Linked DNA regions of Homo sapiens: region 2 is linked to region 1. The links are contacts of gene promoters, found by promoter capture Hi-C in human tissues and cell types (Jung and others, 2019). All regions are on one chromosome and are shown on one strand. Each heading gives the region's core, a stretch centred on a gene start or on the middle of the fragment in contact. The rest is flanking DNA. Distances are from core to core; before and after follow the strand shown.

Region 1 (3,715 bases), core at 732-3,231:
CCTTCACCCAGGTGTTTTGCTGAGAATAAACCTGAGGCTGCAGTGGACAGGGACTTTTCTGAGGTCACATAGCAGGCCAAGGTAGAGCTAAGACTCACATCCTGGGTTCCTGACTGTTAGCAGGTGTGTGCGTCCACACCAATGCCCCAGTGCGGCTTTCCTCCCTTCCTCAAGCCAGCTCTCGATCTACCTGGTCACTGTTATCTGGGGACATGCCTTGGGGTGGCCACTGGCTTGGGGAAGGTGATCAGGGTGGACAGACTTTTCCCAAGCCAAAGCTTCGGCCCCTGGGCAAAGCTTCAGCCCCTGGAAGTTGTGCAGACTGAACTTGGCTTATGAGGAGGAGACTGTGCTGGGCCCAGCAGGGATTTGGGGGAGTCAGAGCCAGGTCCTGATAGCGGGGCTTCTGTTTACCAGCTGTGTAACTTGGGGACATTATCCTCCTCTTCTCTTTCACAGATGAGTTTTCTTATCTGTCCAGTTATGATAATCATGCTTTTCTACTGAAATTAAAAGAGAATGCCTATGACATTGTCAATGCTGAATAAATGGTAACTAGCATTCTTAGCCGGGGCCTGGTTACAATAACAAGCCCCAGGTCCCTGCATTCTGCAACTAACTGAGCCTTGGTGTCTGAAGCTGAAAAGCACAGTTTTGGGTTAGATTGAAAGGTATATCAGGAAACCAGCCCAGAGCCAGGTCTTGCTCTGAATTTTAGAGTCCTCTATCCAGTTAATATGGACGGAGAAGCTTTTTCTCTGCCTGAGCCCAGCTGGGTCTTGGAGACCAGGAAACAGAAAGAAATGATCAGAAGACACTTACCCTGGGGCTGGTCCTTTGGAGGCTTTTCTAGCCCAGAGCCTGAGGCCGCAGCTTCTCCGGGGCCCTCTTCACCTGGCCCTTCTGGTCTGTCCATATCACTCCTCCTGGCAGGCCTCTTTAGGATCGCCTCAATGGAGAAGGACAGGCTCAGCTTCTTCGGGGCCTCACAGCACCCCAAGCTATTTCTCTCCATACCCCTGCAGAGAGCAGGGCCCACCTCAGCACACATTGAGGGGCTCAGGGGTGACTCTGTGTAGGCCAAGGAGGGTGCCAGTGGAGAGTGGCGTACTTCCTCCCCTGAACCTCCTGGGGTCAAGAGGGCGCGTGGAGGTGAAGAACAGAGAGCCTCCAGTTAGATGATCCAAACAGGATTTCGTGTCCACAGGGACTTCCATGGGCAGGTCACAGCAGAAGAGCTGGAAGGAGTGGTATCCTGTGCCCACGGCTCAGCCCTTACCAGTTTGACATCAAAGGAGTCACCATGGCTGAATTGGGGTTCAATCTTCCAGAGAAGGGTCTTCTCGGACACAGTTGCCTGCACAATCACCAGGTTAGGCCAGGATCCCTGAGGTCACCGCCCAGTGGCGAACAAAGAGAAGAGGGAGAAACAATAAGGCACAGGAAAGAGGAGGTCAGTCTCCAGAGGAGGTTTGGAGGCAGGGGTCCACCTTTGCCCTTTCTCTGGCTTCTGGCCCTTTCCTGTGGCTCTAGCCAGCCTTTAGGAGGAGGTTGGAGTGCCACCCTTGGCCTCAGGTGGCCAATTCAGTCCTGGGCTTTACTGCAGCTTGAGGGGTCTTCCCAGACACCCGTGTTTACTTCCTTCAGTTCTGCTGCTTCCAGACTCCAGAACGTACCTTCAGCGCATCAGTGCTCCTGCTGTCCTGCAGGTGGAGGCTGAGGAAAGGGGGTCCCTGGGTGCTGCCAGGCCTGTCTCTTCTCTGTGCCAGGGCTGGGCTGAGCTGTGGGTCTGATTCTTCTCAGGTGCCTCTGGGCTGGCCCTGGCTTTTTTTCTGTTCTATTTTCCCTGACGTCACTTTACATGCGAAGCCCTCTCTCCACAAGCGCCTGACCCAGGGTACCTCTCCCTTCCTTGTGGGGTCCTTTATGCTGTTTCTCCCAGTCTCCTGAGACAGACTGAAGAGGCCCTTTCTCTCTGACTGGGAGCTGACAGTTGTTGATCTGTCCTTGCCTGGAATTTTGCTCCAAATTACTGTGTAACCAAGGAGGAGGGGGCAGTAAAACAGGCTGATAAGAGAAAAACTCTCCACGCCCCTTAAGGCTGGGGATGCAGGTGTCAGGGTAGAAAAGTGGCAGGAGGCAGTGGGGATCTGAAGGACAGGTATTGGAGGCCCCAGGGAGGGGCTGTGCTGGGGAACTGGCCAGAGCAGGGGAAGGGAAGGTGGGAGCAGAATGGCCAGGAAGTGTACCCAGGCCCAATAAAACATGTTTACTCAGCCAGGAGAGCCTGTGGTCATGTGTGGGGGAGGCTGGGCTGAGGTGCAGTCTGCTGGCTGTCAGCCTTAGGCATTCATTTGCTCTCAGATGTGCTTTCCATGGCTTGCAAATATCAGATCAGGAAAAGCATTCCAGGGCTTTCTGATATGGGGAAACTGAGGTCCAGACCAAGGAGGTACAGAAAATGTGATGGCAGGGCCTGATCACAGTACTCCCCTGGGGATGTCCATGATGCCATGCTGGCCACAAGGAGCCAATTTGCACAGGAGGGATGGATACCCTGGCAGAGACTGTGAATGTAAATTTGGATGTTAGAATCTAGATCTTCTCATAGAGGGCAGGGGTGGGAGGTGAAGGATAGGGAACGTTGGTCTCCACTCCCTGAGAAGAGTGAGTCAGGAGAGAGAGGGACTCACCCTGAGAGAGGGAACAGGTAAAGATGCCCCATTTTAGGAGCTGTGCCCCTTGGAAGTGTCAGGCTGTCTGATTTAGTTAGGGGGGGAATAGGCTCTGCTGTAGTAGCAAGTAAACCCTATAGTCTTGGGAGCATAATAGCTCACCCACATCACATTCTAATGTAGTCATTTAGGGACCCAGATTCCTTTCAAACAGTGATGCCACCATTCTCCAATCATAGGCTCCAAGTTTTCTGGGGAAAGGGAGACAGCAAAGGAGAATTTTTTTTTTTTAATTTTAAGTTCTGGGATACATGTGCAGAATGTGCAGGTTTGTTACATAGGTATACATGTGCCTTGGTGCTTTGCTGTACCTATCACCCCATCATCTAGGTTTAAGTCCTGCGTGCATTAGGTATTTGTCCTAATGCTCTCCCTCCCCTTGCCCCCAACCCCTTGACTGGCCCCAGTGTGTATTTTCCCCCTCCCTGTGTCCATGTGTTCTCATTGTTCAACTCCCACCTATGAGTGAGAACATTCAGTATTTGGTTTTCTGTTGAAAGGAGAAATTTTGATGAGTCAGAAGTGGAAGTGGTTGATAGACCTTCTGCTCACATTCTGTGGCCAGAGGGAGTCACATGACCCTGCTTAGACCTATCCCTTTCCTAGGGCTGGACAGGGGAGTTTTCCTGCCAGGAGACAAATGAACCAGTTTGTTGACTTTTGCAGTGAAGAGGCCAGAGTCCCCTAGAAGTCAGGCCCACCATTGGTCCATGGAAGGGGTTGTTGGATGAGAGGACAAGGTTCCTTACACTCAGGGCAGAGGAAGCTCTGATGGGTACTTGAGATGCTTGGTCAAGAGCAAGGACAGGATCTTTGGGGGTGGAAGTGGCAGAGGCAAAAAGAGAGAGGCGATGGAGCCCTTTCTCTCTGCTGGACCTCGTGCCTGCAGCTGTGTGCTCACCGTTTCACTTAATCCATTCAACAGCCTGATCAATTAGGTGTCATTAATGCCATTTAACAGCTGAGGAGACATGCCCAGA
Region 2 (3,715 bases), core at 309-2,808, 1.3 Mb after region 1:
CTCATCCTGCCTGTGGCATCGTGAGAAATTATGGTCATGGGTATTTGCAGGCTGTGTTGGTGCTGCCAGAAGCCTGCTCTTCTCGCAACTCCAAGCCCAGCGGTGTTGGGTGCAGTTGTTGGCTCCGCATTTCTGCACTTGGCTGCAGCACACTTGGGTGTGTAGGAGAGTCTCAGCTCCCTCCACCAGAAATGTTTGCAACTAATCCAGGTGACTAATATTTGATGCTTCAGTTGTTGGTCTTTCTATAGATATTTATATTGCTATCAACCTGTGCCTTGAAGGTTAAAACTGGCTTTTGGGCCTCTTTAAACCATCTCCTGTGCTTTGCACTTAGTGGGAGTGCATTCAGTAGTTGAGGTGGTGTTCCTATTTCTGACACTTAATTTGCATTTTTAACCTACCCAAGGGAGCTTGTTATTGCATGATGTATCAGGTGAGCTATTGTCAAGACTGTAATCTAATTAAATGCTGGGGTCCAGAAGCCTCAGTGCTTATAATGTTGCAGCGTTTATTCCACACGTGTGGCCTTCGTGCTCAGAGTGCTGCTTATCATCCACACAGCAGACATATTTTGACAAAGGCTTGCCTTCTTTTATGAATCCCAAACTAGTAGCCTTCACATTTGCAATTTTCCTTCTATTTAATGAAGTGGTTCCAGATCATTCTGTGACAATCGAAGGTAAACATTGCTCTGCACAAGGCCTACTCTTCTGGGATTCTTCCATGCCTCTTTCACATTTCTCAAACTCTCAGGCCCAAATGTCAGATGGTGTGGGATTTGGAGAGTCGGGAATCCTGAGCATATTTGAGTTGAAAATTCACACAGAGCTTGAGTGAGTGAGGATGGCGGTGGCGGGGGAGGGCATGAACTGTTTTTGCTTTTATTTAATGGCGCACCTTTGAGAATGATCTTGTGGCTTTTGAGCAGGTTGCAGGACTTCAAGGTCTCCATAGTGGTTTGGTTTGCACCTTTCTTTTTGGATGTGGAGGTTTCCCCTAGGTGGCCAGCTGATTTTTTGGTGCCTCCATTTATGCCCTAACCCCTTCTTTTTCTCTTAGATCATTGCATACCGAGCACATATTTATTAAGTACCAAGTGTACGTCTGATACTGGACTAGAGTCCGAGAAAGACACTAAGATTAAGACATAGTTTCTGTCCTGATGAAAATTGTTCTTTTGTTAGTCTTAGGTGATAATGACCTTTTCTGAAGATAATAGGTCCTCGGAGGAAACCAGGAGATGAGATGATGGAAACACTGATTAATGAGTAAAAAGGGAAATTATAGAAAGGTGGGAAGCAAGAATTTAAGGCTGAGAGCAATCTTCTTTTGCAGGGAAGGACTCACTATTGCCATTTAGCATACTTGCTATAATAGAAGTATGTATGCCGGTGTTCAGGAATCCAGAAAAAGGGGCACCTAAGTATCTGGGGACATCCAAGAAAGCTTTCATGGAAGAAGATGCCTCCTGGGCTGAATCTTGAAGCATGACTAGGAATAGGCCAAGGAGAGGAGTCAGAAGACCACGCTTGAGTCCTGCCATTGTTGGGCTCTCCAGGAAGCGATGGTCAAGGTCTGTGTGCTGAGATCGTATGCCAGATGTGGTGTTAGGGATCGGCATGTTTAACCCAATCAGTCAGATGATCCCAGTAGGAAAAGCAACACAGCAAGTCTGAAACACTGTATCATACCACACAGTGCCTCAGCTCTCAAATTTCTCTATTGGCTTTTGAGCCCTGCAGAAAATCAGCTGTGTCTTTCTACATTCAGGGGGTCCTTCTCCGCTTCTGTACTCATACCTTGAGGTGCTCTCATCTCATCCCCCGCCTCCTTCCATGCCCTCATCTTTGGCTCTCAGTGATTCTGTATTAATAGCAGCGATTAAACTGCCTCATCTCATCAGGGAGGAGATATTAATCTTCATCAGGCCCAAGGAAGAGCTTAATTTTTTCCTGCTCTTCTCCTCTCCCCAGGCTGCCCCACTGAGCTCAGGCACTGTCAGCTGCACCACTGTCTGTGGGACATTTAGTGATCTGCTTCTGCAGATGCGTTTCAGTGAGTTCACTTCTCTGACTCCCTCCCTTAGCCTCCCTGCACCCAGAGCTTCACAGGCTGTTATTGAAGACCACTGTCAGGAGAGGGAGAGAAGGGGAAAAATACTCCCTCAAATAGAAATTCCCAACTTCATTGTCTTGCGTGGCTGCAGGGTAAATTAGACCAGGACAGTACCGCAGCTGAAAGCTGTAGGTTTTTTGGTTTATGAAATCCTATTCAGCCCTTGGAGAAGTATGCCTTTTTTCATGCTATGATTCTGCAGTTAGCTGTGAACTGAGGATGTCAGATGCCCAGGGGCAGGAACAGGAGACAGGGAGGCTCGAGAGTTCATCAAGAAATTAGGATGGAAAAGAGCTATTCCCAAAGCCAGGCATCCCAGGCTGGTCCTGCCGGTGTGCACCAACAGCCAGTGATAACTCAGCGCCCATCAAGTTTCTACACGTGCCCAGTGAGCCCAGGGCTGGCACGGTAAAGGACACATGGTATCTCTTTTAATCTTGACAAACTTGCGAGGCATGTACTGTTATTCCATTTTTCCAATAAGGAAACTAAGGCCTGAGAGAGTAAGTACGTACGCTGAGGTTACACGGCTTGCAAATTTTGTCTTTGCTTTCTTCACTCTTCCTGTCATACTCTGCCCACTGTATCTAGGATGACTGTATAATGTCTTGTCCAAACTGGAACACTGTTAAGAATGCGGGGGGGATAGGGACATACATGGGGACATACAGTTTCCAGTCCATGGAAACTGGGAAGCATGGTCTCTCTTTTTTTTTTTTTTTTTGAGACGGAGTCTCGCTCTGTCACCCAGGCTGGAGCGCAGTGGCGTGATCTTGGCTTACTGCAAGCTCCGCCTCCTAGGTTCACACCACTCTCTGGCCTCAGCCTCCCAAGTAGCTGGGACTACAGGCTCCTGCCACTGCACCTGGCTAATTTTTTATTTTTAGTAGAGACGGGGTTTCACCGTGGTCTCCATCTCCTGACCTCGTGATCCACCTGCCTCGGCCTCCGAAAGTGCTGGGATTACAGGCGTGAGCCACCGCGCCCGGCCCTGGCATGGTCTCTTACGACTGCCCAACCAGGAGGCTGAGGGATGCTTCGTGCTCCTTTGGAAGCAGAGCTAGCCAGATGGACACTATTCCCCCTTCCTCATTTCCCTGCCCTCCTCTCCTCCCATCTGAGCCATCTGAGGCCCCTGAGTGCCCTGCTGGCTTTCCAAATGCCTGATGCTAGAGAGCCTGATTAGTTTGCTTTCACAATGAAGAATCTCAAATAACCACTGCCCCTTCGCCCAGCAAGCAGCCTTCATATCCAGACCACCTCCTAGGATCTATTTAACTCCCTCTACTCTGTGGGATTGGCCTTTGTTCAGCCTTTGAGCACACCTGGGTTGGGGAAATGGTTATTTTTCCCAGAATGGGCTTTATTTGCATTCCACGAGCAATCTTCTTACTCGGAGGGATTCCTGGGACATTAAATTAGCAGAAAATGACATTAGCGCTAAGAACCAAATTCGATTACCTGAAATACATGTATTATTGTAAGAAATAAAACAACGTCATCTCCACCTCCACACCCCCAGATCATACCCTCACACTGAATTGTATTAATGCCAGTTTCCTTTTAGTTGCTGGCTTTGTGTGTGTGTGTGGCAGGT

Evidence for each region. The method cuts DNA at HindIII sites, captures the fragments that hold promoters and counts their contacts. A contact is called where the count stands out against the background at its distance.
Region 2: a fragment that was not itself captured here is called in contact with the fragment with the promoter of ISX in region 1 in 1 of the 25 tissues and cell types used here (dorsolateral prefrontal cortex).

The regions. Positions count from the first base shown.
Region 1 is chr22:35,064,424-35,068,138 of GRCh38, reverse strand. ISX (intestine specific homeobox) reads right to left here and starts at 1,981. Exons shown (of 5, transcript NM_001303508.2): 1 at 1,677-1,981; 2 at 823-1,387. The coding sequence starts at 1,051. The HindIII fragment of the contact is 5,369 bases long and covers 525-3,715 here.
Region 2 is chr22:33,737,972-33,741,686 of GRCh38, reverse strand. All of the region lies in intron 2 of LARGE1 (LARGE xylosyl- and glucuronyltransferase 1), which reads left to right. The region is part of intron 4 of LARGE-AS1 (LARGE antisense RNA 1); the gene reads right to left. Among named protein-coding and RNA genes, the nearest start is that of LARGE-AS1, 15 kb to the right of the region's middle. RefSeq lists enhancers at 2,537-3,056, 3,057-3,576. The HindIII fragment of the contact is 7,179 bases long and covers 1-3,715 here.